6 separate regions of the Homo sapiens genome follow, and regions 1, 2, 3, 4 and 5 are each linked to region 6. The links are contacts of gene promoters, found by promoter capture Hi-C in blood cells and fetal thymus (Javierre and others, 2016). All regions are on one chromosome and are shown on one strand. The core of a region is centred on a gene start or on the middle of the fragment in contact, and the rest is flanking DNA. Distances in the headings are between cores, read along the strand shown. Region 1 has its middle 53 kb from the start of OGT. Region 2 overlaps TAF1 (TATA-box binding protein associated factor 1). Region 3 overlaps TAF1 (TATA-box binding protein associated factor 1). Region 4 overlaps TAF1 (TATA-box binding protein associated factor 1). Region 5 overlaps TAF1 (TATA-box binding protein associated factor 1). Region 6 holds the start of CXCR3 (C-X-C motif chemokine receptor 3).

Region 1 (4,720 bases), core at 1,870-4,369, 140 kb after region 6:
AGGGAAGTGTGTTGATAGTGGGAGAAAGCTTGTGCTTTCATGATATAAGGGACAGCCATAGTGCCACTACTTTCTCCAGTTTCCTTCCCCAAACATGAATGTGATTACTAGAACTAAAGCAGCCATCCTGTGATCATAAGGCAACAAGCACGAAGGCCGAAAGCCAACCTGCTAAGGAGGGTTAAGCAGACAGATGGAGATTGAATTCTTGATGCCATTGCTAAGCCTTTGAACCAAAGCCAACAACTACCTATCTCTGGACTTCTTATATGAGAAAAACAAATACCTACTTATTTAAGTCAAGTTTTTTGTTACTTATAACCACACAAATGGCATCATGTCATTTTCCTACTTAAAACCCATCAATAGGCCGGGCGCAGTGGCTCATGCCTGTAATCCCAGCACTTTGGGAGGCCGAGGCAGGCGGATCATGGGGTCAGGAGATCGAGACCATCCTGGCTAACACGGTGAGACCCCGCCTCTACTAAAAATACAAAAAATTAGCCGGGCATGGTGGCATGCACCTGTATTCCCAGCTACTCAGGAGGCTGAGGCAGGAGAATCACTTGAACCTGGGAGGCGGAGGTTGCAGTGAGCCGAGATCGTGCCACTGCACTCCAGCCTGGGCAACAGAGCGAGACTCTGTCTCAAAAAACAAAAACGAAAACAAAAAACATCAATTTCAGGGTAGAGCCCATTCCTCACGGAATGACATATAGTTTCCATCAAGATTTGACTCTGGTCTCCTTTCCAGCTGCATCTTCTACCATTATCTCAGATATTCCAAATCAAAGATCCATTATGAAATATATTCTTAAGCATCCATACCTATAGATATGTGGTTTTCTGTGGAATGCCTTCATGATTTGTACAATTAAATAACTCTTTTTATCTGTCAAATATCAGTCCAATGGTTACTTTTTGTGTGTGTATGTGTGTGTGTGAGAGATGGAGTTTCACTCTTGTTGCCCAGGCTGGAGTGCAATGGCACGATCTCGGCTCACTGCAACCTCCCCCTCCCGGGTTCAAGTGATTCTCCTGCCTCAGCCTCCCGAGTAGCTGGGATCACAGGCATGCACCACCACGTCTGGCTACTTTTTGTATTTTTAGTAGAGATGGGGTTTCGCCATGTTGGCCAGGCTGGTCTTGAACTCCTGACCTCAGGTGATCCGCCCGCCTCGGCCTCCCAAAATGCTGGGATTACAGGCGTGAGCCACCGCGCCCAGCCCATCCTGTCCCTTCTCTAAACACTTTTCACCATCTCCATTACTATCAACCTCAACCAAGCCACCATCATCTCCTGCCTAGATTACTACAATAGCCTCCTAAGTACCCCTTGCATGTGTTTTCTCTTTGCCTGGAATGATCTTCCCCCAGATAGCCACATAATTTATTCCTTCACTTCATTAATTTCTCTGTTCAGATGTCACCTTCTCTGAAAGGCCTTTCCTGATCACCTTATCTAAAATAGCAACTCTCTCCTCCTTAACACATACACATTCTCTTTATACCATTATATTACTTTAGTGTTCTTTATAGTACTTATCACCACCTCACAGATATTTATTGCCTCTCTCCACCTCCATGAAAGGACTTTTGTTCAATGCTGTATTTCCAGCACTTAGATTAATCTTGGTACGTAGTATTCACTTAATAAATATTTATTGAATGAATATATGAATTATTTCTGGCTTTTAGAAGAATGGGTAACTACATAATTGAATAAATATATCTCTGTACCCCAAGGCCCAGCATACTACCGGGTACATAGTGGGAATTCAATAAATGTTTGTTGAATGAATCAAGGCTGTAAACATGCTCATAAGTCTTTCTCTTTTTTTAAGAGACAGGATCCATGGTGGGGTGCAGTGGTGCGATCATAGCCCACTGCAACCTCAAACTCCTGGGCTCAAGGGATCCTCTTGCCTCAGCCTCCCGAGTAGCTGGGACTACAGGTATATGCCACCATGTCTGGCTAGTTTTGTTTTTGGTTTTGTTTTTTGAGACAGTCTCAGTCTGTTGCCCAGGCTGGAGTGCAGTGATACAGTCATGGTTCACTGCAGCCTCAAACTCCTGGGCTCAAGTGATCCTCCCACATCAGCCTCCCAAGTAGCTAGGACTGCAGGTGCACACCACCATGCCCAGATAATTTTTTGATTTTTCACAGAGACATGGTCTCGCTATGTTGCCCAGGCTGGTCTAAAATTCCTGGGCTCAAGAGATCCTCCCACCTGGGCCTCCCAAAGTGCTGGGATTACAGGCATGAGCCACCACAGCCGGCCTCATAGGTCTTTTAAAAATTTTCTGGTTATCCCATTTCTCCCTTTAGCTATTACTATCATTCTCCTTCCCCTGATAGCCTAGCTGCTTTCTCACCTTCCAGTCACTTTTTTTTCAGCTTAAAAACTTTTATGAAATATATCACAAATACAAAAGTATATCTGACATTTATGGTAGATAAAAATCTCATATATAATTTAAAGAATAAGAAAATGAACATCTAAGTGCCCACCAATCAGCTTACAAACCAGAACATTACCAGAGCCTCTGAAGCTCTCTGGATACCCTTCTGAATTGCATTCCTTTCCTTCCCTGCAAGATATAACTGCTATTAGGAATTGTACTTTTTTTTCTTTTTGTTTATTTATTTTTTGAGACAGAGTCTCACTCCATCACCCAGACTGGAGTGGAGTGGCGTGATCTCAGTTCACTGCAACCTCCACCTCCCGGGTTCAAGAGATTCTCCTGTCTCAGCCTCCCAAGTAGCTAGGACTGCAGGCATGCGCCACCACGCCCGGCTAATTTTTGTATTTTTAGTAGCAATTGGGCTTTGCCATATTGCCCAGGCTGATCTTGAACTCCTGGCCTCAAGTGATCCTCCTGCCTTGGCCTTCCAAAGTGCTGGGATTACAGGCATGAGCCATCATGTCTGGCCAGTAATTATACTTTTCTTTATGGCTTTCTCACCCGTGTTTTTGAACCTTATATACATAGAATCATATCATATGAATTTTTCTGAACTTTCCTTCCACATTATGTTCGTGGGACTCATCTATGTTGATATTTGTATCTGTAGGTATTTTTACCAATGTATAGTTTTCCCTTTTATAATAATACCATAATTTACTAAACCATTCTCTTATTGAAGAACATTTGAGCTATTTTCAACTTTTTGCTATAAAGATCAGTGCAGCTATTAACACTCTTGAATTCTTGTACATGTCTTCTGGTACGGTGGTGCAAGAATTTTTCTAGCATATATACCTAGGGGTAGAATTGCTGATTAAGTCAGCTAGGTGCAGTGGCTCACGCCTGTAATCCCAGCACTTTGGGAGGCCAAGGCGGGCGGATCACCTGAGGTCAGGAGTTCAAGACCAGCCTGGCCAACATTTTCACGTTTATTGGCTATTCCTGTTTTCTCTTCTGTGAAATGCTGCTTTATGTTTTTTGGTCAGTTTTCATTGGATGGCTTGTCTTTTTCTTACCGATATATTGTCTTACATATTTTTTTTCAGAATTTAAAAAGAATTTTTGCTAAAGATAGACCTCCCTATGTTACCCAGTCTGGTCTCAAACTCGTGGACTCAAGCAATCCTCCCATCTCTGCCTGTCAAAGTTCTGGGATGCTGAGATTACAGGTGTGAGCCATCGCACTTGGCCAGGATTCTCTTGTTTTTGTTTGTTTGTTTGTTTGTTTGTTTGAGACAAGGTCTTGCTCTATCACCTAGGCTGGAGGAGTGCAGTGGTATGATCATAGCTCACTGCAGCCTCGAACTCCTGGGCTCAAGTGATCCTCCTACCTCGGCCCCCAAAGCATTGAGATTACAGGCATGAGCCACCGCAGTTGGCCAGGATAGTTATTCTTTTTTTGAGAAGGGGGTTCACTCTTGTTGCCCAGGCTGGAGTGCAGTGGCGTGATCTTGGCTCACTGCAACCTCCACCTCCCGAATTCAAGCAATTCTCCTGCCTCAGCCTCCCAAGTAGCTGGGATTACAGGCACCCACCACCACGCCCAGCTAATTTTTTTGTATTTTTTGTAGAGATAGGGTTTCACCATGTTGGCTGGGCTAGTCTCGAACTCCTGACCTCAGGTGATCTGCCGGCCTCAGCCACCATGCCTGGCCCAGGATAGTTATTCTTTATCAGTTATATGAATTGGAAACATCTTCTGCCAGCCCATCACCTTTTAAAATGATGTCTTATGATGAACAAAAGTTTATTTATTTATTTAGAAACAGAGTCTTGCTCTATCACCCAGGCTGGAGGGCAATGGTGTGATCTCGGCTCACTGCAGCCTTTGCCTCCTGCGCTCAAGTGAGTCTCCTGCCTTAGCCTCCCGAGAAGCTGGGATTACATGTATGTGCTACCATGCCCAGCTAATTTTTGTATTTTTAGTAGAGATGGGGTTTCACCATGTTGGTCAGGCTGGTCTCGAACTCCTGACCTCGAGTGATCCACCTGCCTCGGCCTCCCAAAGTGCTGGAATTACAGGCGTATGCCACCGTGCCCGGCTTCAAAAGTTTATATTTTTTAACACAGTTAAATGCATCCAAATTTTATTTTATGATTTGCCCTTTATGTTATTGTCTAAGAAATCCTTTTGTATACCAAGGCTATAGAAATATTCTTAGTGGGCACAGTGACTCACACCTATGATCCCAGCACTTAGCACTTTGGAAGGCTGAGGTAGGAGCATCGATTGAGGCCAGGAGTTTGGGAC
Region 2 (4,218 bases), core at 1,014-3,513, 230 kb after region 6:
TCCTGCCTCAGCCTCCTGAGTAGCTGGGATTACAGGCATGTGCCACCACGCCTGGCTAATTTTGTATTTTTAGTAGAGACGGGGTTTCTCCATGTTGGTCAGGCTGGTCTCAAACTCCCAACCTCAGGTGATCCGCCCACCTCGGCCTTCCAAAGTGCTGGGATCACAGGCGTGAGCCACCACGCCCAGCTAATTTTTGTATTTTTAGTAGAGACAGGGTTTCACCATGATGGTCAGGCTGGTCTCGAACTCCTGACCTCAAGTGATCCATTCACCGCGGCCTCCCAAAGTGCTGGGATTACAGCCATGAGCCGCCATGCCCGGCCCCAACATACCCTTTCTGTATACAACCCAATCCCCTCCCTATCCTCCCATTCTTACCTGTAGAAAGTCTCGAATATGCGTATTGGCCCTTTTGGAGTTAGGCCCAGGAACTTCAAACAAGGGACACTGCTGGCCAACCACAAAAATATCCACTAATTCCCGAATATAGTAACCCTGTCTTGTCCGAATGATCAAGAAATCAGTTTCTGGCATCTTATGAAGATAAATTGGAGCACGAAAAAGGTTGTTCTCAAATGCCTAACAAAAGTAAAAACACAAAAATTATATACAGAGTAGCCCTAGGAAATTCAGTCAACTGCTGAGAAAGAAATACCAAGCTTATTGCTCTCCATCTTAATTACGCCATCTAAGGTCTATCCAGTAATACAAATAAATTAAAATATAGATTATCAAATGTGACTAAACAATTTTTCATCCACTATCTTTCAGAGTCAGTAGGGGAGAAAATACAGGATGTGAATTCAGATGATGCTAGCTCTGCCATTACCTCTATGATTTAACATGTCTATTTAAGCTATTTAACATGTCTAAGTTTAGTTTTCCTCATCTACAAAACAGAGATACTTAAAAATGCCTATACCTCACAGGACTGCTATGAAGATTACATATGAAAATCACTTCATAATGTACCAAGTACTATACTACTACCCTAGACCCCAGTGTAGCCCAACACACAACGTGTGAGAGCAACATTTGTTGAATAAATTATTAAACTAATTAAAAAACAAAACAACGCCGGGCACAGTGACTCATGCCTGTAATCTCAGCACTTTGGGAAGCCGAGGCAGGTAGATCACTTTACCTCAGGAGTTCAAGACCAGCCTCGGCAACATGACAAAACCCCATCTCTACAGAAAATACAATAATTAGCTGGATGTGGTGGCGTGCGCCTATTGTCCCATCTACTTGGGAGGCTGAGGTAGGAGGATGGCTTGAGCCCAGGAGGCAGAAGTTGCAGTGAGCCAAGATCGTGCCACTGCACTCCAGCCTGGGTCACAGAGCCAGACCCTATCTCCAAACAAATAAATCATAAAACAACCAATGAGGTAGAAAGAGTGCTAGACAGAATAGGCTGGGAAAAAACAAAAGGAAAACACAAGACAGTAGGACAGAGGACAGCTGAACAGAAACATTTGAGCCAGTTTAAGTAGAGGCAAGATAGGGATAAACTGTCACAAGAAGCCTGAGTCTAAGGAAAGCCTTCCCCGAAAATCAGAAGAGTAGACAGAAAGAGGGAAGACCATCACTGAGTGTGGAAAGAAAATTCTACATGTGAAATATAGGCAGAAAAAGAATTACAGAAGAATACAGAAAAAGATCTTTTTTTTTTTTTTTTGAGATGGAGTTTCGCTCTTGTTGCCCAGGCTGGAGTGCAATGGCGCGATCTCGGCTCACTGCAACCTCCACCTCCCGGGTTCAAGTGATTCTCCTGCCTCGGCCTCCCGAGTAGCTGGGATTACAGGCATGTGCCACCATGCCCGGCTAATTTTGTATTTTGAGTAGAGGCAGAGTTTCTCCATGTTGGTCAGACTGGTCTCGAACTCCTGACCTCAGGTGATTCGCCCACCTCGGCCTCCCAAAGTGCTGGGATTAACAGGCGTGAGCCACCACGCTCGGCCAGAAAAAGATCTTTAAGAGACTACAAAAGTAGCCACAAAAGAAGAGGCTGAATTGGTAGAAAACCTCAACAGAAAGTTCCAGGGAAAGGAGAAGAACAATACAAAGATGATACTAAACATCCGGTTAGCAATAGACTATGAATGTAAAGGATAAAGAAAAAAACTGAGCTTTGCAGATGCTTTAGGAGAATAAACAACAACAACAGTAGAATAAACTAGGTATAAGAGTAGGACAAATGGTTAAGATTGCCAAGAGAAATGAAATGGAGAAAAAAAACAAGATGGGAGAGTGCTAGAGATTTTCCACATCATTTGTGGACCATCATACTTCCCCCCTTGAATATATAAAAGCTGTTATAAGAGAGCCTCTTTACACCCATTAGAACAAAGGAGGGAAAAAAAAAGCATTTCACTATGGCTGGGGACTGTAGATGGCACAGTTCAGGTGTGGTTCAATATTCACAATAACCACAGCTAATGTGATCAAAATGTTATCAATTTTATACACAAAAATTAAATATTCATAAATTATAGTAAATTTATAGTAAATTCATCCTAGGTTGACTTCCTTATGCTTCCCAGATGTTACTGAGCTTACCAGTGTGTATTTTTAAAAACCTATTTTACATTTAGCCTGAGAATAACACAATTCACAGCCAGTTTTAAGAAAAAGATTTCTTTAAAACATTTTTGGATTATACTTATTTTCTTTGTACTTAAAATTAAAGCATCTCAATCAACTAGAATTATAATAGTTCTTTCTGAGCTGACTGGTTCCTCATTTATCAATTTCCTTAGTTAACAGTAAAAACAGGAAAGAATTCCTCACTTGCAGCAATTGGCCAGGATGGAGAGAACCCAGGAAAGGAGATGTATGGCAGTAAACAGTTTCCCCATATTTACAATCTGGTGCTCCAGGATCTTTTCCAGGTTTCTATAAGGAACACAGAAGACCCAGTTATTTAGAATATATCAATAATCCTACACAATATGACCATAGCACTTTACTAATACAGGTTGAGTATCCCTCATCCAAAATGCTTGTGACCAGAAGTGTTTCGGATTTTGGAATAGTTGCATTATACTTACCAGTTGGGCATCCCAAATCTGGAAATCCAAAATGCTCCAATGAGCATTTGAGTATCATCATAGTGCTCAAAAAGTTTAGGATTGGCCGGGCATGGTGGCTCATACCTGTATCTCAGCACTTTGGAAGGCCAAGACGGGCAGATCACGAGGTTAAGAGATCGAGACCATCCTGGCCAACATGATGAAACCCTGTCTCTACTAAAAATACAAAAATTAGCTGGGTGTGGTGGCACACGCCTGTAGTCCAGCTACTCAGGAGGCTGAGGCAGAAGAATTGCCCAAACCCAGGAGGTGGAGGTTGCAGTGAGTGGAGATCATGCCACTGCACTCCAGCCTGGCAAAAGAGCAAGATTCAGTCTCAAAAAAAAAAAAAAAGTTTTGGATTTTGATTTCGAATTTTGAGATTTGAGATGCTCAACATGTTATAACTACAAAAAAAGGTACCACTCCTTTCTCCCAAGAAATTTATGGTATATGTTCACAGATTACCAGTAGATCTCTAACTACAGCTACGTTAATAATAAAAAATTTGTATGTAAGTTTGCAGTTTGTCTCACTACAGCTATGTTAATAACAAAAAGTTTGTACATAAAAGTTTATGGAAGCATAAGCAGAATTATGTATGGGAAAAAAATTTTCTGAGCAGAGACTCACCCGTTTATAATAGTTCTTTATCTTGGTTGCCATGCCAACCTGCATCATTAAGGGTCCATTTTCCTCACTATATTCTGCAAGAATAAGATCACCATCTTTGCCTGTGAGGTCCTGAGGTGTGCGCATAAAAAACATCTCTCCACCACCTGAAGCTTGCCTCTCTTGTTCTCTCATCTGTCCAGAACAAAGAAAATACCATCTAGCTCCTGACAGGACACTACTACACACAATGACGTTGTTCAATCTGAGACAAACACACCAAAAACATTTTACCTATTTTCCAATTTCATAATCAAAATTTTCAAACATACTGTAAAGTTCAAAGAATAGTACAGTCGGCCCTCCATATCCATGTATGGGTTCTGCATCCGTGATTTCAACCAACCATAGATAGAAAATATTCAGAAAATACAAGTGCATCTGTGCTGAACAGGTACAGACTTTTCTTGTCATTATTCCCTAACCAATAACAGTGTTAACAACTATTCACATAGCATTTACATTGGAGTAG
Region 3 (4,734 bases), core at 1,820-4,319, 200 kb after region 6:
GGTCTATAGCTACCCATTTCCCTAAGCTCCATGTAAGGGCCTGGGACATAGGTGAGTTTTCACATTCCAGGAAAAAGCAGTGATAGCTCAGAGCCCAAATGGATAAAAATCCATTTGATTTTTATGCTCACCTCATTTTTCTGTGCTTTCCAAGATTCCAAAAGTAAGCGTATACTACTTTTTCATCATTAACGGCTAATAGCAATCTTTATAGAACATACACACTAAAATATATGCTTGCTTTAAAAAAAAAGACTGGCTGGGAGCAGTGGCTCACGCCTGTAATCCCAGCACTTTGGGAGGCTGAGGCAGGTGGATCACCTGAGGTCAGGAATTCGAGACCAGCCTGGCCAACATAGTGAAACCCCGTTTCTACTAAAAATACAAAAATTAGCTGGGCATGGTGGCAGGCACCTGCAATCCCAGCTACTCAGGAGGCTGAGGCAAGAAAATTGCTTGAACCTGGGAGAGGTGGAGGTTGCAGTGAGCCGAGATCGTGCCATTGCACTCCTGCCTGGGCAACAAGAGTGAAACTCCATCTCAAAATAAATAAATAAATAGAAAGACTAGGTCACTCAATTGATTCTGCTATCACTGCTCAAGGTTGCTTTACGCACATAAATTTTAATAATACTGGTTAGGCGTGTTGGCTCACACCTGTAATCCCAGCATTTTGGGAAGCCGAGGTGGGAGGATTGCTTGAGCTCAGCCTGGGCAAAATAGTAAAACCCTGTCTCTACCAAAAAAAAAAAAAAAAAAAAAAAAAAGAGCCTGGCACGGTGGCGTGTGCCTGGTTCAGTGAACTATGATCACACCACAGCATCCAGCCTGGGTAAGAGAGCAAGATCCTGTCTCAAAAAAAAATTTTTTAATAATGCTAAGTAATGTTAGATGGATAGAAGATGGACGGATTCATGGAAAGAAAATAATGAGAAATACCCACCATTATACTTAACACTGTTGGCCAGAATAAGGTTTACATCATCCAGAAAGCTCTCCCGACTCTGATACTTGTGCTTGGAGATGTTCTGTGATGAAAAGAATCAGGCACTCAGATACACACACACACAGTCACTTGATTACAAAAAGGCATTTAGATCAAATCACTCACTCACCTTACGTATGGTCTCTAAATCCATTGGATTGACAATCACTTTGTAATAATCTGGAACAAATTTCTTATTAACTGGGTGATGAAATGGCCAAGACTAGTAAATAGAAAGCATAAGAAATTAAATGGAAACCACTCTTCATACGAGAATTTCACCACCTTTGTTGGGTTACAAATATTCCTAAAAAAAGCTATGGACTCTTTTCCTAGAAAAACACATAATCATACAAAACTTCTGTTTATAATGTAAGGGGTTCATAGATTCCTTTAAGGATTTCTATGCCATGATAGGATAAAAACACTTGCTGTATAGTCATAATTAAAATTCCTTATTCCCTAGTCCCAACGAGAAGTTTTATAGCATTACACATATAGAACACATTCCTATAGTACAAAAGGAAACTCTGTTGAGAATTCCTGGGGAGGATCACTGTAACAATATAAAAATGAAATAAAAGACAACCAATGGTGTCTAATTATCAAAGCATCATTTGCTTAGAAGCACCTCTAAATCAAAAGCCTCACATTCGCTAGCATCCTCTCTCTACAGGGCTATTCAGGAGCATTCATATACTGAATGTCAACAACAGGAAGCAAAAACCTCCCTACATCCAAAGATTCCTGGCCTCTTTGATTTCAATGATAATGTACTCTTAAAAAAAAAAGATAATGTACCCATATAGCAAAAAGGTCAATATTTAAAATCACATACCAGTCACAACTGACATACACCACCACTCAGACTCTCCAAAATACACACACGTGTACACCCTAAACATTTTTCCTTTCCCCTGCACGATCCTCACAGTATTTGGCACAGAGACAGCTTACATCTGGAACTGCCATCATTTTCTGGGTGACAATGTTGTCCAGAATGAAAGAAAACGCCACTTGGTCATCATCATCCAGCAAGGGGTTGATAGCTTTCTCTAAGCGAGCTAATTTGTCTTCTTTCTGAAATTAAACAAAGCAAAGCCAAGACAGAGGTTTCCCTAAGGTGTGATCACCATAGAAAAGTTAAGGACAATTTGCCGGGCGTGGTGGCTCACGCCTGTAATCCCAGCACTTTGGGAGGCTGAGGCGGGCGGATCACAAGGTCAAGAGATCAAGACCATCCTGGCTAACACGGTGAAACCCCGTCTCTACTAAAAATACAAAAAAAAACTAGCTGGGCGTGGTGGCGGGCGCCTATAGTCCCAGCTACTCAGGAGGCTGAGGCAGGAGAATGGCGTGAATCTGGGAGGTGGAGCTTGCAGTAAGCCGAGATTGCACCACTGCACTCCAGCCTGGGTGGACAGAGCGAAGCTCTATCTCAAAAAAAATAAATAAATAAAAAATAAATTAAGGATAATTTAAGTTCAGCTAGCTATCTATTACCCTTGCCCCAGAAAGTGTAACTTTGAATTGCCTATGGAATGACAAAAAGTCAAGATAAATGATATTCCAGGCTGGGCACAGTGGCTCACACCTGTAATCCCAGCAATCTGGGAGGCCGAGCAGGTGGATCATATGAGGCCAGGAACTCGAGACCAGCCTGGCCAACATGGCAAAACCCCATCTCTACTAAGAATACAAAAAAAAAAAAAAATTAGCTGGGCGTGGTGGCACACGCCTGTGGTCCCAGCTACTCGGGAGGCCAAGAATCACTTAAACCCAGGAGGCGGAGGTTGCAGTGAGCCAAGGTCATCCCACTGCACTCCAGCCCAGGTGACAGAGCCAGACCCTGTCTCAAAAAAAAAAAAAAAAAATTCCAGTAAAAGGGTCAAAAAGGATGTGTCAACAACTTCTTTAGGTACTCTACATTCTATTCTTCTGGTTCACCAAAATTTATACTTCCCTGAGTGTCAACATCATAGCTCCCCACACACACAAAAAAACATCTTTAGCAATTTAGGCTTTAAGATCATGCTCTCTGTTTTTGCTGTAAAACTACTGCTGGAAACACTAAACATTATTACTGATTAGTGACTTTTGCGTAATGGGACCTAACCCAATAAATTCATTTTAGACTCTAGTAGGAAAAAGTTTGTATTCCTATTGCTCCAAATCCTCATCAACATTTAGTATTGTCAGTCTTTTTAATTTTAGCCTTTGCAGTGGGTATGTAGTGACATCGTGGTTTAAATTTGCATCTCCTCAATAATCAATCAAGTTGAGAATCTTTCCGTGTTTACTGGCTAGTTGTCCTCTTTTGTGAAATGTCTACTTCATACTTACACTTTTGTAGGTTTATAAAGTACCATTAATTGTTTTCAGTAAGAAGAGGGAATATAGATAGATTATCATTTAAAAATTAAAACTTCTAGCACTTGCTGCTTGGTTGGTTAAAAATATGAAGAAAAAATGAAAATTCTTCCTAAAACATTGACTGGTCTCTTAGCTACAGCTGACTTCCTGGAAACTCACTTTCCTTTGCCCTTTCTAATGAGTTATGTAGGTGCTGGATCTTAATTCTAACTTTGTTAATAGTCAAGATGTCCAGAGCAAATACTTTTCTTCTACGGGCCCAGTTTTTCCATCTACAAAAGGGACTGGCCTATGAGTTCTATAAGTCCCTTCCAGCCTTCACATATACTAAAGATCTGCTACTCCCGCATATATTTTTCCTTCTGTTAAATTCCCTACTTCCTAAACCCTGATATCCCACCCCCACCTTCAAATTCCACTGCCTTTCTCTCATTCTAACTGTCTTACCTCTTTGAGTTTTTCATCACAGAGATCCAGCATGGATTGAGAGATCTGAGTCAATGAGTGTTTTGGCCCTGTAGAGGAACAGAAAGAGATGAAACCACTAATAACGGGAGGCAAAAGCTGCCAACACTTCTTTATCCTTTTAATGCACTTACTTAAGAACCTAAAATGTGTCAGGCACCAGGCTAACTGATGGGTTAGACAGATACACCAGACTTATGTCCATTTTCCAGCACCTAAAACATAGCAGTTACACAATATGAATGAATAAACTAACTTTAACTCTTTCCTTGTGTGTATCTACACACAGTAGTACTACTGCTGCTTTTAATACCTCAAACATAATACTATGGAAGGGGAGCAATAATTTCTTTAAGAATGCCTAAAGAGTGAGCAGGCGGCAGCGGGCGGCTGGGGCTGCAGGCGGTCAGGCCTCCGGGTCAGGGCGGTGGCGCCATCTTGTGCCTGGGGCCGGTGGGGAGGCCGGGGAGGGGGCCCCGGGGGGCGTAGGGGACTACGGGAACGGCCTGGAGTCTGAGGAACTGTAGCCTGAGGAGCTGCCGCTGGACCCCGAGCCGGAGCCCAAGCCTGAAGAGGAGCCGCCCTGGCCTTGCGCCCCCCACCCCCACGGGAGCTCCAGGCCTGGTTCGGGAGCCCCTGGCAGCCAAGAGGAGGAGGAGGAGCCATGACTGGTCGAGGGTGACCCGGAAGACAGCGCCATTGAGGATCCGGAGCTGGAAGCTATCAAAGCTCGAGTTAGGGAGATGGAGGAAGAAGCTGAGAAGCTAAAGGAGCTACAGAACGAGGTAGAGAAGCAGATGAGTATGAGTCCACCTCCAGGAAATGCTGGCCCAGTGATCATGTCATTGAGGAGAAGATGGAGGCCGATGCCCGTTCCATCTATGTTGGCAATGTTGACTATGGTGCAACAG
Region 4 (4,291 bases), core at 209-2,708, 160 kb after region 6:
CACAAAATATCCCCAAACAGGATTTTTCTTAATTTTCCTTCCCTGTTGCCACATATAACACTTGATCATTCTGTTCTCATCTTTTTTTCTTTTTCTTTGGAGACAGAGTCTCACTATGTTGCCTAAGCTGTAGTGCAATGGTATGATCATGGCTCACTACAGCCTTGAAGTCCTGGGCTCAAGCGATCCTCCTGCCTCAGCCTCCTAACTAGAACTACAAGCACTCGCCACCACACCCAGCTAATTTTTATTTATTTACTTTTTGTAGAGACAGGGTCTCGCTATGTTGCCTAGGCTGGTCTCAAACTCCTGGTCTCAAGTGTTCCTCCTACCTTGGCTTCCCAAAGTGCTGGGATTACAGGCATGAGCCACTGTGCCCAGCCTTTAACAAGTATCCAGATCAAAGCTGTTACTTAGGCACTGTCTTTTCCACTGTTGTCTTTTGTACCTCCTGCTAATGAATATGATCATCCTACGCCTGAGTGCTCAGTACTCTCAGGTCTATTAATAGGAATTCAATAAAAGAGGCAGCTTCCAATAAAAGCATATGTGGCCAAGAGCGCCTATCCAGTCCAGTTCTGAGGGTGCTGTAGTGAGTTATAAAGGAATAGAAGCAATGGTTGAGGCCTACCAGAGAAAGGATTGTCTCCTTCTTCATCACTCCCAGCATCTTCCTCATCATCTTCTCCTTCAGACATAAGCAAATCCTCATACAGGACACTGGCTTGAGGCTGTTGTACAGTTCCTTCCTCTTCATCTGCAAGATCACCATCTCCATCTTCACCTTCCTGAATGAGACCAGTTGGGGGTCAAAGTCCTATCAACTGACCACATAAGAGACCAGAAGCCACCACCAGGCACACCCCCCCTCCCCGCCCCGCCCATCCCTCCACTTGCTGCCTCACAAGAAGTTAAGTAATTATTTTTGGTGGATAGACTGTTTAGTTGGTCCCAAGGATTAAAGTCAGATTGGGGCTCACTAAGGAGACCCCCTGATATCATCTTAGGATTTGGCCTGGCCTGTACTGATGGGGCTCCTATCATATAAGGGCATAACGTAACCATAAGCTTTCTATAAGCATACTCACTGGGGCTGGAGTCTTAGGTTTCCCATCCTCCTCCTCATCATCATACCCTTCAATATCTACATCAGAGTCTTCCTCGCCCAGCCTACCTCGGCCCTGGCGCATCTGAGTAAGGAACACAAATAGCACATCATTGAGGGACGTGCCTGTAGGAGGAGTTAACCAAGGGCTCTCACCCAGGGTGGATGCTCCTCCCTGATATCCCAGCCAATCCCACTGCTAGTGGGGGCTGTTTAGACAGCTCAAGGCATGCGCATTTTCCCCCATTCTTTGGAAATCACAGCCGGAGTAAAAAACCCAAAGAACAGGAAAGGCTCTTAGTCTACTCTTACTGTATTATTACAAAGAGACTCTTCCTTTCTAACCCAAACTTTCCTTATAGCTTGTGTTGAACTCTTTGGGATAGAAAAACCCTCCTGGGTTTTACACTTTCCAGTGGAACCCTGACTGAGAATAGCTGTAGAAAAGCTGTAGATATTTCTGATACCTCTAGAAAAGGCCAATTTTTAAAATTTAATTTTATAAATAATTTTAATTTAAATTATAATACACATAAAGTAGGCCAATTATTTTGAACTGTCTGAGTGCAGTTGGTCGCTCTAGTCACCCGTCAGGCTACTCTGATGCTTCACACCCTTTTTTCATACTTGTGTCTTCCCTGAAGTTCTGCTGTGCCTGACTCTACCCATGGGGACAGAGAGAATATAACACCAGTCACACGACCTGCTGCCATCCCAACTTGAAATCCCATTTCTAAGCTTTCATTCCCAGGGCCAAAGGGCCCAGTCATTCTTGACATATGTCACATATCACCATCACCATCACCATTCCCCTAGCCCCACTTGCAGGCACAATAACAATCTTATAAAGAGAAAAAGAACATCCTACCTGTGTTACCTGCTTTTCTGGAGTGGCACTGGGAATATCCAAGACAGACATATTGCTCTCATCTTGAAATACAGAGGCATCTCGAGACATACTGAGGGATGTGTTGGTATCATACAAATCAGGAGGCTGTGGCACAAAACATACAACTTAGCTTCTATCTAGGAAAGGGAAAATAAATACAGATAACTCCCCTTTAAGGCATTTACTGGAGAAAAAGATCATGCAGAGCAATTCAGTTAAAGAGAAACATAGTTTGACACAGCTTTACAGACAAGTTTTTGGGACTCTTATAAATGTTGCCTATTCTAGTAGACAGGTGCCTGATGCACGTAATCAGAAGCCTGAAGCAGAAATGCACCAAAGCTATGGGACAATTTTATGTCCTAACAGCCTTTCTGGTCAATAACCTAGTTTTTTTCTAAGCCTTGTCTTTCGGTTTTTAGGCCCAAGGCTTCATATCAGTGCTATTTTGATTGCTTGATTTGGAGACAGAGGAAATGAGATAAAGGAATTTCAATTCCAACAAGAGCATAGAATGCTTTGATAGTTTATGAGCCCATCAGAGGATGCTACGAAGCAAAATGGCATGGTGAAAAATCATAGGCCTTGGAGTAAAATGTCCTGGGTTTGAGTCCTGGCCCCAACACTTGCTAGTGAGTAACAAATTACTTAACATCTCTAAGCCTTGATTAACTCAACTATAAAACATGGATGATAATGTCTACCTCACAGGGTTGTTGTGAGAATTAAGAGATGTGTAAGTTCCTTACCCATGCCTGGTACTCAATATATTATAGATCCCTTCCCTGTTTTCTGCCCTGGAAAGAACAGGGATTCAGCAAATGGACTATTCTGTGACAGGAGGGCAAGAAGGACTAGATAAAGTGCTCACAAAATAATGTAAAGTGAAAAGAGTTAAGACACAAAACCATATTGATCAATTTCATTTTAAAAGTGTGTCTATAAACACAAATACATACGCTACAGATATGAAAGAAATAAAAATATTCACACTGGCTGATGTTGCTTCTGAGTGGTGGAAGTGATTACAAGAGGTAACTTATTTCTTGTTTTTATTTTCCAGTTTTCTCTAACAAACATGTTACTTTTATCAACAGATAGAACAGATATGTGTTACATTGTGTTTTTTAAAAAAGGAAACAAAACTGATTCAGAAGAGGGTTTTGGAGAAACAGAGGCAAAACAAAATTCAAAGCATTACAGAGCAGGTAAATCAATGTGGAACAGAAGAAAGGAAAAATAAGGGGATGAAATTTCTGCAAAACCCTACGGCACAGTGCAGAAAACTGCAAAGTCAACAGTTTTAGATAAGGTGTTAAGCTGAACAGATGATGCAATCCAAGTTAGGTGGAAACAGTTGAGTGAAAATACATTATTGGGCCGGGCGCGGTGGCTCACGCCTGTAATCCCAGCACTTTGGGAGGCCGAGGTGGGCCTGAGGTCGGGAGTACGAGACCAGCCTGACCAACATGGAGAAACCCTGTCTCTACTAAAAATACAAAATTAGCCAGGCGTAATGGCCCATGCCTGTAAAACCAGCTACTCGGGAGGCTGAGGCAGGAGAATCACTTGAACCCGGGAGGCGAAGGTTGCAGTGAGCCGAGATTGCGCCATTGCACTCCAGCCTGGGTGACAAGAGCAAAACTCGGTCTCAAAAAAAAAAAAAAAAAAAAAAAAAAAAAAAAAAAAAAAAAAAGAAAATACATTATTGACCACCACCATTTAGAAGTTGAAAGGTATGATTACTATCATGCTTCTTACAACCAACATTGTATTAAGGCAGGTTACACTTTTGCAAACACACTCTAATAACATTTGAGTTTGACAGTAGTAATGTAAGTAAAGTAAGGACAGTCACTCATGTACACCTTCCTCAGGTTAAGAGATAATGAGTTGGTTACTATCTTAAACTGTTTGTGAGTGAAGGGAATGATGAAAAGGTGAACTGGAATAATGAAGCAGTACTATCTAATCCTACTCTTCATAGGAAACCCTCTAACTGCACCAAATGACAGCTAATGCTCAAGAGAGAAATAGCTAACAGGTTGTCCTTAGCCATTTGAGGTAGTCTGGGAGACGTAGTGAAGAAAGGAAGGTGACTTTGGGGTCTAAGGCTTTGACTCACCAAAGGACTAGGCTTAGGCTGTCCTAGAAATGAGCAAACCATGTGCCATTCAATGGCTAGACTCTCCTGGGGAATGATGGCTAATACCCAGGCTTTAACTTACCAGAAAGTACCTTGTGGAAGCTGTGGGCCTATTAGCAAATAGGGCCTTCCTGGGCAACATCACTCACCC
Region 5 (4,309 bases), core at 1,127-3,626, 180 kb after region 6:
ATTTGCACTGAATTCCAAACAATAAAAATAAAAAATAAAAAAAAAACTGGGCCAAAGAAATGAACAGTCACTTCACCAAAGAAAATATACAGATGGGGCTTGGCACCATGGCTTTGGGAGGCTGAGGTGGGAGGATCACTTGAAGCCAGGAGTTCGAGACCAACCTGGCCAACATCATGAAACCCTGTCTCTATTAAAAATACAAAAATTAGCCGGGCATGATGTTGCGTGCCTGTAATCCCTGCTACTCAGGAGGCTGAGGCACAAGAATTGCTTGAACCCAGGAAGGGGAGGTTGCAGTGAGCAAAGATAACAAGAAGAAGAAGAAAGAAGGAAGAAGGGAGAAAGAAGGAGAAAGAAGAAGGGAGGAGGAGAAGACACAGATGGCACATGAAAAGATGCCCAACATCATTAGCCATTAGAAAAACACAATGTATTTGAGGAAATAATTTTAAGACCGAGAGCAAGAAAATGTTTTTAATTTAAAAAAAGAAAAATGCCAAGTAAAATCACAATAGAAGAACAGCTAAAATTTTAAAAAGTGGTAACAGTGAATGCTGCAGAGAAACTGGATCACATACATTGCTGGTGGGAATGTAAAATGGTACAGACACTCCAAAAGTGTGGCACAATCTTTTTGTAGTTCATAAGCTTATGATGACGTAAGTGTGACGACATTGGGTTTTCACGTTCATGTGTGAGATGTGCCTCCCTCAAGCCTTATTACAATGCCAGTACATTTTTTTTCCACATCTGATGTGGAAAAAAAAAAAATGAAATAGTGCCGTGTCTTGTAAAACTAAACATATACCATTCTATTCTTGGGCATTTATCCCAAAGAAATGAAAAATTAAACTCATCCAAAACCCTGTCTATGATTGCTCACAGCAGCTTTACTCACAATGGCAAAATAGTGAAAATCTGAATGTCCTTCAATGAGTAAATGTTTGAACAAACGCTGGTACAACCACACAATGGAACACTCAACAATTTAAAAAATGAACTACTGATACAACAATTTAGATGGACCTCAAGGGAATTATGCTTTGCGAAAAAAGTCAATCTCAAATGGTTACATATTATACTATTCCATTTATATAACATGCTCAAATGTCAAAACTATAGAGATGGAGAACGGATAAGTGGAACAGGAACAGTGGTGGGTGTGGTGGTGGGCATGTGTGTGTGGGGGGTGCAGATACAAAGAACAGGGAGTTCCTTTATGGTAACAGTTCTAAGTCTTGATTGTGGTGGTGGTTACAGGAACATATATATGGCACGAAATTGCACACACTTATGCACAAATGAATAGATTTTTAAAATGGTGAAAACTAAGTTTTGTAATTTATTTAAAAGTAATGTACCAATATAAATTTCCTGGTTTTGATACTGAAGTACAGCTATGTAAGATATTGCCATTGAAGGAAGCTGAGTGAGAAGCCCACAGGACTCTGTACCATTTCTTGCAACTTCCTGAATCTATAATTATCTCAAAATAAAAAGGATCAGAATACATTCATGAGCAAAAAAGAGCAAATTACAGAATAAAACAAAAACTTGAAAACCTACATGTAATTTTCTTTTTGACTGCTCTTGCGGAACAGGGCTACCCTATAGGCAGTGTGCTGAGAGCAGCGTAATAAGTAAACACGTTTTGTCTAAGCATAGAAAAAAGTACCTAAGACTATAGACCAAGCTGTTATCTCTGGGGAAATGAAAATATGGGAGACAGGAGTGGGAGGGCAGGCAGAGGCTTTAACTTTTAATTTTATGTATTTCTAGATTATTTGATCTTTTTATAAGAGATTTTGCTTTTTTGTTTTTTAAAAGGTCTACCTGACAGAAATGTAGATGATAGGTTAGAAGGAGATAAATGTAAAGGCTGGGACATTCACCAGGCGACTAGGCAAAATGTAATGTGAACTTTAGTGACATACTGGATGTTGGAACTTATTCAAAGTGAAGAATTAAAAAAAAAGAGTTTCCTAGACGTAGCTACTGGGTAATGTTAATGCCCCATTAAACCCAGATTGGAAATTGTAAATGAGTGATTCAAGTAAAGAAGGAGAGAGGGAGAAAGTTGGAATAAGGAAGGATAGGAGGAAACAATAATACATTCAGCTTGAGGTATGTTTTAAGTTCCATTGAGACATCCAAGAGGAAATGTTTGGCAAGTGGCTTTGTCTACAATAGAGTCATCAGGAAAAGAGGTGGCAACTGAAGTTACAGGAGTGGGCAGAACATTCAGCAAAGGAGATTAAAAAGGAATAGTTTAAGAGGTGGGAGGAAAATAAGGGCTTTTTTATTTTTGGAGTCTTGCTCTGTCACCCAGGCTGAAGTGCCGTGTCATGATCTTGGCTCACTGCAACCTCTGCCTCCCAGGTTCAAGTGATTCTCCTGCCTCAGCCTCCCAAGAACGCTGAGTGCATTCTCATACCACGTGCCACCACGCCTGGCTAATTTTTTTGTATTTTTAGTGAAGACGGGGTTTCACCATGTTGGCCAGGCTGCTCTCGAACTCCTGACCTCAGGTGATCCACCCATCTCGGCCTCCCCCGGCCAGAGCTAAAAATTGTCATGGAAGCCAATCACAATACTGTTGTGAGGAAAGAATGGTCAATGATGTCAAATACTAGGGTGAGGTCAAGATAAGGACAGAAAAGTGCCCACTATATCTGATAATTATGTGATCCTGTTTACTTGGTAGACTGGACAGGGTGGAAGCCAGCTTAAAGCTAAGCGAGGCATTACTGGAAGACAAAGAAAATAGTGAGAGACGTTACATATTCATAAAAGAAGTCTGGCTGTCATAAAAAAGAATGAAACTCTGATACATGCTACAACATGGATGAACCTTGAAAACATGGTAAGTAAAACAAACCAGACACAAAAGGAAGAATATTGTATATAATGTATGATTTACTTATATGACATACCTAGAATAGGCAATTTCATAGAGATAGAAACTAGAATAGAGGTTACCAGGAGCTGGGAAGAAGGGGAGTTACCATGTAAGGGGTATAGAGTTTCTGTTTGGAATAATAAGAAAGTTCTGGAAATACACAGTGGTAATGGTTGCACTACACTGTGATTGAACTTAATGCCACTGATTTGTACACTTAAAAATAGTTAAAATGACGGCTGGGCATGATGGCTCATACCTGTAATCCCAGCACTTTGGAAGGCTGAGGGGAGGTGGATCACCTGAGGTCAGGAGTTTGAGACCAACCTGGCCAACTTGGTGAAACCCCGTCTCTACTAAAAATACAAAAATTACCCGGGCGTGGTGGTGCACGCCTGTAATCCCAGCTACTCTGGAGGCTGAGGCAGGAGAAACGTTTGAATCCAGGAAGCGGAGGTTGCAGTAAGCCAAGATCGCGCCACTGCACTCCAGCCTAGGAAACAGAATGAGACTCCGTCTCAAAAAAAAAAAAAAAAAAAGTTAAAATGACAAATTTTTATATTATGTATATTTTCCATAATAAAAAAGTCTGTATGGAAAGAGAAAGAGACAAGATGGCAGCAAGAGACCCAAGCAGGATCGGGGGAAGTTTTTCTTCTCTTCAATGACATGAAGGACTTAACTTTCATATGGAAATATTTCTCTTTTTCTTTTTTTTTTTTTTGGAGACAGAGTCTCATTCTGTCGCCCAGGCTGGGGTACAGTGGCACGATCTCAGCTCCAGGTGCATGTCACCAGCACCAGTCCCGGCTAATTTTTGTATTTTTAGTAGAGATGGGGTTTCACCATGTTGGCCAGGCTGGTCTTGAACTCCTGGCCTCAAGTGATCCACCCGCCTCAGCCTCCCAAAGTGCTGGGATTACTGTTGTGAGCCACCAAGCCTGGTCAGAAATACTTATACCTTGGGTCCCAATCACTGATGGAAAAAAAAGACCCTTATTATTCATGAGTGGCCAAACTTACAGAGTAGTACCCTCATAACAAAGACTTAGAAACTAGTATTATGGAAATACTTTAAGCATTATATTTAACCTATGAACAATACTGAATCATCTATTCATATTCTTCAAATTGAAACCTTTAGACTTAATAACCAGTTAGGAAAAAAAGAGTACAAGCACAATGGCAGCAAAGCTTTTAAATTTTATATTGAATATCGACAATGAAAAATAAATAAACAAAATAAAAACTTTTAAATTACCTAGGAATAAACTCGACAATGAGAAATTCAAAAGCAACAAAAACTATCAAATTAAATAAATTAAACAAAACATGCCTAGAAACTGTATGAAGAAAACTAGAAGCCATTATTGGGGGACATAAAAGAAAATGTGAATAAATGAAGAA
Region 6 (4,321 bases), core at 153-2,652:
AGAGGAATTGTTCACCATTCTCTGCCATAAAGTGACTGATGTGCTGTACCAAGGCTGCCTTACAGCTTTTCCTTAAGATCAAGAAGTTCCTATGGCCTCCTCCCCAACCCCATCCTCCTTCTTGCCCGAGAAGCAACTGCTTTTATGAATTTGTGGTATCTCCTGTCCCTGTTTTAAACCTCGAGAACCAACAGTGTTATCCAAAACAACATGGTATTGATTTTGTGGTGGTTTTTAGAGTTTATGTAAGTGGCATCAAACTATACATGGCATTCTGTAACTTGCTTCTTCTACCATGTGATCGTTGGCTTTTCTAGATGCATCCATGTTCAAATGTGTAGCTTTAGTTCATTTGTTTTTAACTGCATGAATATATCATAGCTTATTCACTTAAAAGAAACTGAAGACAGTGTTCATGAGTAGGAAAAGGAGAATCAGACAGCCGTGGGATCAATCCTCACGCCCACCTTTAATTGCCGTGTCTGGCGAAGGCCTGTCCCCTTTCTGAATCATCCATGCAGATAACCCCGCACGTCACAAGTGAGTTGTGTGGTTGAAATAAGGCAGTGTCGGAGAAAGCACCTAAAGCAATGTCTATCACATAGCAAGTTCATTACTGGTAGTTCCCTTTCTTTTTCCCCACTGATTAGCAGGGAGAGGTGGTGGTAAAAAGCTAGATTTAGTGTAACGGCTTTTTAAAAAAATATTTTAATTCCCTTTTTAAGAGACAGGGCCTCACTCTGTCACCAGGCTGGAGTGCAGTGGTACAATTATATCTCAAGGCAGACTTGAACTCCCGGGCTCAAGCAATCCTCCTGTCTCAGGCTTCCAAGTAGTTAGGACTACAGGCACATGCCACCATGCCCGGCTGGCTTTTTTTATTTTTGGTAGAGATGGAGCCTCGCTATGCTGCCCAGGCTGGTCTCAAACTCTTGGCCTTAAGTGATCCTCTTGCCTCAGCCTCCCCAGTAGCTGGGATTACAGGAATGAGCCACTGCACCTAGCTGAAATTTTTAAGAAGGTGGATCTCCTCTGCAGACTTATTTCTCTACCCAGCCTTTACAATCATGCAAAGATCAACTCAAGGCCAGGACAGATGAGTTCCAATCTATGGAGCACTGACCCTACCAGTGCAGGCAGTAGGGTTGCCCTTCACTTCTCAGCTGCATTGCTTCCTCTTCAGACCTCTCTTCTCAAAGGACCTGCCCCCAGCCAGTCATCCTCTGCCCAGCTTTTCTGGTCCCAAGCTTGTAGCCAGCTCCTCCAGAGAGGTTTCACCCAGTCACGGAAACTCTGTGGCCTGAGGTTTAGGGAGGTCTGGTAGAGGTAACTCCCTGGAAGAGGCTGCTGCTGAGAACTGCCTGAAACTCCCACTTCCTCTGTGACTGCAGGTTTCCAACCACAAGCACCAAAGCAGAGGGGCAGGCAGCACACCACCCAGCAGCCAGAGCACCAGCCCAGCCATGGTCCTTGAGGTAAGTGCTGCTGCCCAGCCAGGCCAGGCCAGAATTCGAAGTGGAAAACCCGGGGCATCAGGGGAATGCCAGGGCTGGCCCACAGCCCAGGGTCACCACAGGGTTGGGTGAGTAGCTGGAGGCCGCATGGGTTGTGGCAGAAACAGCACTGGGGAATTGGGAACCCAGCTTGGCCACTGACCCTGGGTGCCTCTCCTCTCCTCTCTGGCTTCGGTGTCTCGTCTGCAAAATGGGGGGGGCGGGGGGCAAGTAGACTCGAAGGCTCCCTTCAGGAGACTTGGAACTTTGACTCTTGGCGTGCTGGACTAAATTGGTACTGGGGAGACCTGCAGGTCCATAGTGCTGGGGGTGAGGGGATAAAGAAGATTCCTTCTCAAGCTAAGTGGGGGATCCCCTTGTGGGCAGCTAAATGGCCGTGCAAGCCTCAGTGTAGGGAGGGGGAAGGACTGGGCAGACTGCATGCATTTGGGGGGCGTGGTGACTTGTAGAGAGGCCACACGGTGGGGGGGGGCGCAGGAAGTTGGGGTCCCCGGACAAGGGCCAAGGAGGGAAGAGGAGGGTTAGTGACTGGAAAAGGGGATTGTGGAGAGGCGCTGGGGAGGAAGGTGGTTGAACTATGTGTTGGGGGTGGGGCACTGAGGACGCAAGGCAAGCCTGAAGGGAGAGCAGGGAGAGAGAGGACAGTGGGCAGAGAGGGCTCTGGGCACTGGAGGGACGCTCTTCTTCCTGCCCAGGGGTCCCTGGGCCGATGGGATCACGCAGAAGAATGCGAGAGAAGCAGCCTTTGAGAAGGGAAGTCACTATCCCAGAGCCCAGGCTGAGCGGATGGAGTTGAGGAAGTACGGCCCTGGAAGACTGGCGGGGACAGTTATAGGAGGAGCTGCTCAGAGTAAATCACAGACTAAATCAGACTCAATCACAAAAGAGTTCCTGCCAGGCCTTTACACAGCCCCTTCCTCCCCGTTCCCGCCCTCACAGGTGAGTGACCACCAAGTGCTAAATGACGCCGAGGTTGCCGCCCTCCTGGAGAACTTCAGCTCTTCCTATGACTATGGAGAAAACGAGAGTGACTCGTGCTGTACCTCCCCGCCCTGCCCACAGGACTTCAGCCTGAACTTCGACCGGGCCTTCCTGCCAGCCCTCTACAGCCTCCTCTTTCTGCTGGGGCTGCTGGGCAACGGCGCGGTGGCAGCCGTGCTGCTGAGCCGGCGGACAGCCCTGAGCAGCACCGACACCTTCCTGCTCCACCTAGCTGTAGCAGACACGCTGCTGGTGCTGACACTGCCGCTCTGGGCAGTGGACGCTGCCGTCCAGTGGGTCTTTGGCTCTGGCCTCTGCAAAGTGGCAGGTGCCCTCTTCAACATCAACTTCTACGCAGGAGCCCTCCTGCTGGCCTGCATCAGCTTTGACCGCTACCTGAACATAGTTCATGCCACCCAGCTCTACCGCCGGGGGCCCCCGGCCCGCGTGACCCTCACCTGCCTGGCTGTCTGGGGGCTCTGCCTGCTTTTCGCCCTCCCAGACTTCATCTTCCTGTCGGCCCACCACGACGAGCGCCTCAACGCCACCCACTGCCAATACAACTTCCCACAGGTGGGCCGCACGGCTCTGCGGGTGCTGCAGCTGGTGGCTGGCTTTCTGCTGCCCCTGCTGGTCATGGCCTACTGCTATGCCCACATCCTGGCCGTGCTGCTGGTTTCCAGGGGCCAGCGGCGCCTGCGGGCCATGCGGCTGGTGGTGGTGGTCGTGGTGGCCTTTGCCCTCTGCTGGACCCCCTATCACCTGGTGGTGCTGGTGGACATCCTCATGGACCTGGGCGCTTTGGCCCGCAACTGTGGCCGAGAAAGCAGGGTAGACGTGGCCAAGTCGGTCACCTCAGGCCTGGGCTACATGCACTGCTGCCTCAACCCGCTGCTCTATGCCTTTGTAGGGGTCAAGTTCCGGGAGCGGATGTGGATGCTGCTCTTGCGCCTGGGCTGCCCCAACCAGAGAGGGCTCCAGAGGCAGCCATCGTCTTCCCGCCGGGATTCATCCTGGTCTGAGACCTCAGAGGCCTCCTACTCGGGCTTGTGAGGCCGGAATCCGGGCTCCCCTTTCGCCCACAGTCTGACTTCCCCGCATTCCAGGCTCCTCCCTCCCTCTGCCGGCTCTGGCTCTCCCCAATATCCTCGCTCCCGGGACTCACTGGCAGCCCCAGCACCACCAGGTCTCCCGGGAAGCCACCCTCCCAGCTCTGAGGACTGCACCATTGCTGCTCCTTAGCTGCCAAGCCCCATCCTGCCGCCCGAGGTGGCTGCCTGGAGCCCCACTGCCCTTCTCATTTGGAAACTAAAACTTCATCTTCCCCAAGTGCGGGGAGTACAAGGCATGGCGTAGAGGGTGCTGCCCCATGAAGCCACAGCCCAGGCCTCCAGCTCAGCAGTGACTGTGGCCATGGTCCCCAAGACCTCTATATTTGCTCTTTTATTTTTATGTCTAAAATCCTGCTTAAAACTTTTCAATAAACAAGATCGTCAGGACCAGGGCATGTTCGTGCATCATTACAGTCAGCCCAGCCCACCTGGGCTCCAGGGGCACTTCCTGGTTCTCCCTGCCTGGCCCTGGGTCTGTGCCAGCCCATCCTGCCTTCATCAATGTCTGTCTGCAGCTTTGTCTCTGCCCTCGTGGGCACTCCTGTTCTACTCACAGGGAAACACCCAAGTACATGGGTGCAGAGTGAGCAGTTAGGCAGCTGGTTGGCATAATTGGGGAAGGGGCCATCAGACATGAACACGAGAGCCCTGCACTCCAGCAGCTCAGGACAGGAGGCAAGATGTGTGTGAAACTAGCGAAACCCAGCAGCCTGG

The links. Contacts are between HindIII fragments. The CHiCAGO score rates a contact against its expected background, and 5 or more counts as called.
Region 1: a contact is called between a fragment that was not itself captured here and the fragment with the promoter of CXCR3 in region 6, in 1 of 17 cell types (activated CD4 T cells). The highest score is 5.4, in activated CD4 T cells.
Region 2: a fragment that was not itself captured here is called in contact with the fragment with the promoter of CXCR3 in region 6 in 3 of 17 cell types (activated CD4 T cells, M2 macrophages and non-activated CD4 T cells); the score reaches 7.1 in activated CD4 T cells.
Region 3: a fragment that was not itself captured here is called in contact with the fragment with the promoter of CXCR3 in region 6 in 1 of 17 cell types (non-activated CD4 T cells); the score reaches 5.7 in non-activated CD4 T cells.
Region 4: a contact is called between a fragment that was not itself captured here and the fragment with the promoter of CXCR3 in region 6, in 4 of 17 cell types (total CD8 T cells, activated CD4 T cells, non-activated CD4 T cells and 1 more). The highest score is 6.7, in total CD8 T cells.
Region 5: a fragment that was not itself captured here is called in contact with the fragment with the promoter of CXCR3 in region 6 in 6 of 17 cell types (non-activated CD4 T cells, total CD8 T cells, activated CD4 T cells and 3 more); the score reaches 8.8 in non-activated CD4 T cells.

What each region holds. Positions count from the first base shown.
Region 1 is chrX:71,477,505-71,482,224 of GRCh38, reverse strand. It overlaps a transcript of TAF1 not described here. Among named protein-coding and RNA genes, the nearest start is that of OGT, 53 kb to the left of the region's middle. The HindIII fragment of the contact is 6,178 bases long and covers 31-4,720 here.
Region 2 is chrX:71,383,625-71,387,842 of GRCh38, reverse strand. TAF1 (TATA-box binding protein associated factor 1) reads right to left here. Exons shown (of 38, transcript NM_004606.5): 13 at 3,708-3,881; 14 at 2,794-2,898; 15 at 382-582. Among named protein-coding and RNA genes, the nearest start is that of TAF1, 19 kb to the right of the region's middle. The HindIII fragment of the contact is 3,197 bases long and covers 665-3,861 here.
Region 3 is chrX:71,420,448-71,425,181 of GRCh38, reverse strand. TAF1 (TATA-box binding protein associated factor 1) reads right to left here. Exons shown (of 38, transcript NM_004606.5): 29 at 3,806-3,873; 30 at 1,943-2,065; 31 at 1,116-1,208; 32 at 944-1,028. It also overlaps the pseudogene PABPN1P1. Among named protein-coding and RNA genes, the nearest start is that of TAF1, 56 kb to the right of the region's middle. The HindIII fragment of the contact is 6,757 bases long and covers 1-4,734 here.
Region 4 is chrX:71,456,049-71,460,339 of GRCh38, reverse strand. TAF1 (TATA-box binding protein associated factor 1) reads right to left here. Exons shown (of 38, transcript NM_004606.5): 35 at 1,974-2,099; 36 at 632-788. Among named protein-coding and RNA genes, the nearest start is that of OGT, 75 kb to the left of the region's middle. The HindIII fragment of the contact is 775 bases long and covers 1,071-1,845 here.
Region 5 is chrX:71,436,967-71,441,275 of GRCh38, reverse strand. The region is part of intron 32 of TAF1 (TATA-box binding protein associated factor 1); the gene reads right to left. It also overlaps the pseudogene LOC124905281. Among named protein-coding and RNA genes, the nearest start is that of TAF1, 73 kb to the right of the region's middle. The HindIII fragment of the contact is 3,445 bases long and covers 654-4,098 here.
Region 6 is chrX:71,615,592-71,619,912 of GRCh38, reverse strand. CXCR3 (C-X-C motif chemokine receptor 3) reads left to right here and starts at 1,402. Exons shown (of 2, transcript NM_001504.2): 1 at 1,402-1,475; 2 at 2,454-3,994. The coding sequence starts at 1,464. The coding sequence ends at 3,548. RefSeq lists enhancers at 3,403-3,672, 3,933-3,982. The HindIII fragment of the contact is 3,713 bases long and covers 1,250-4,321 here.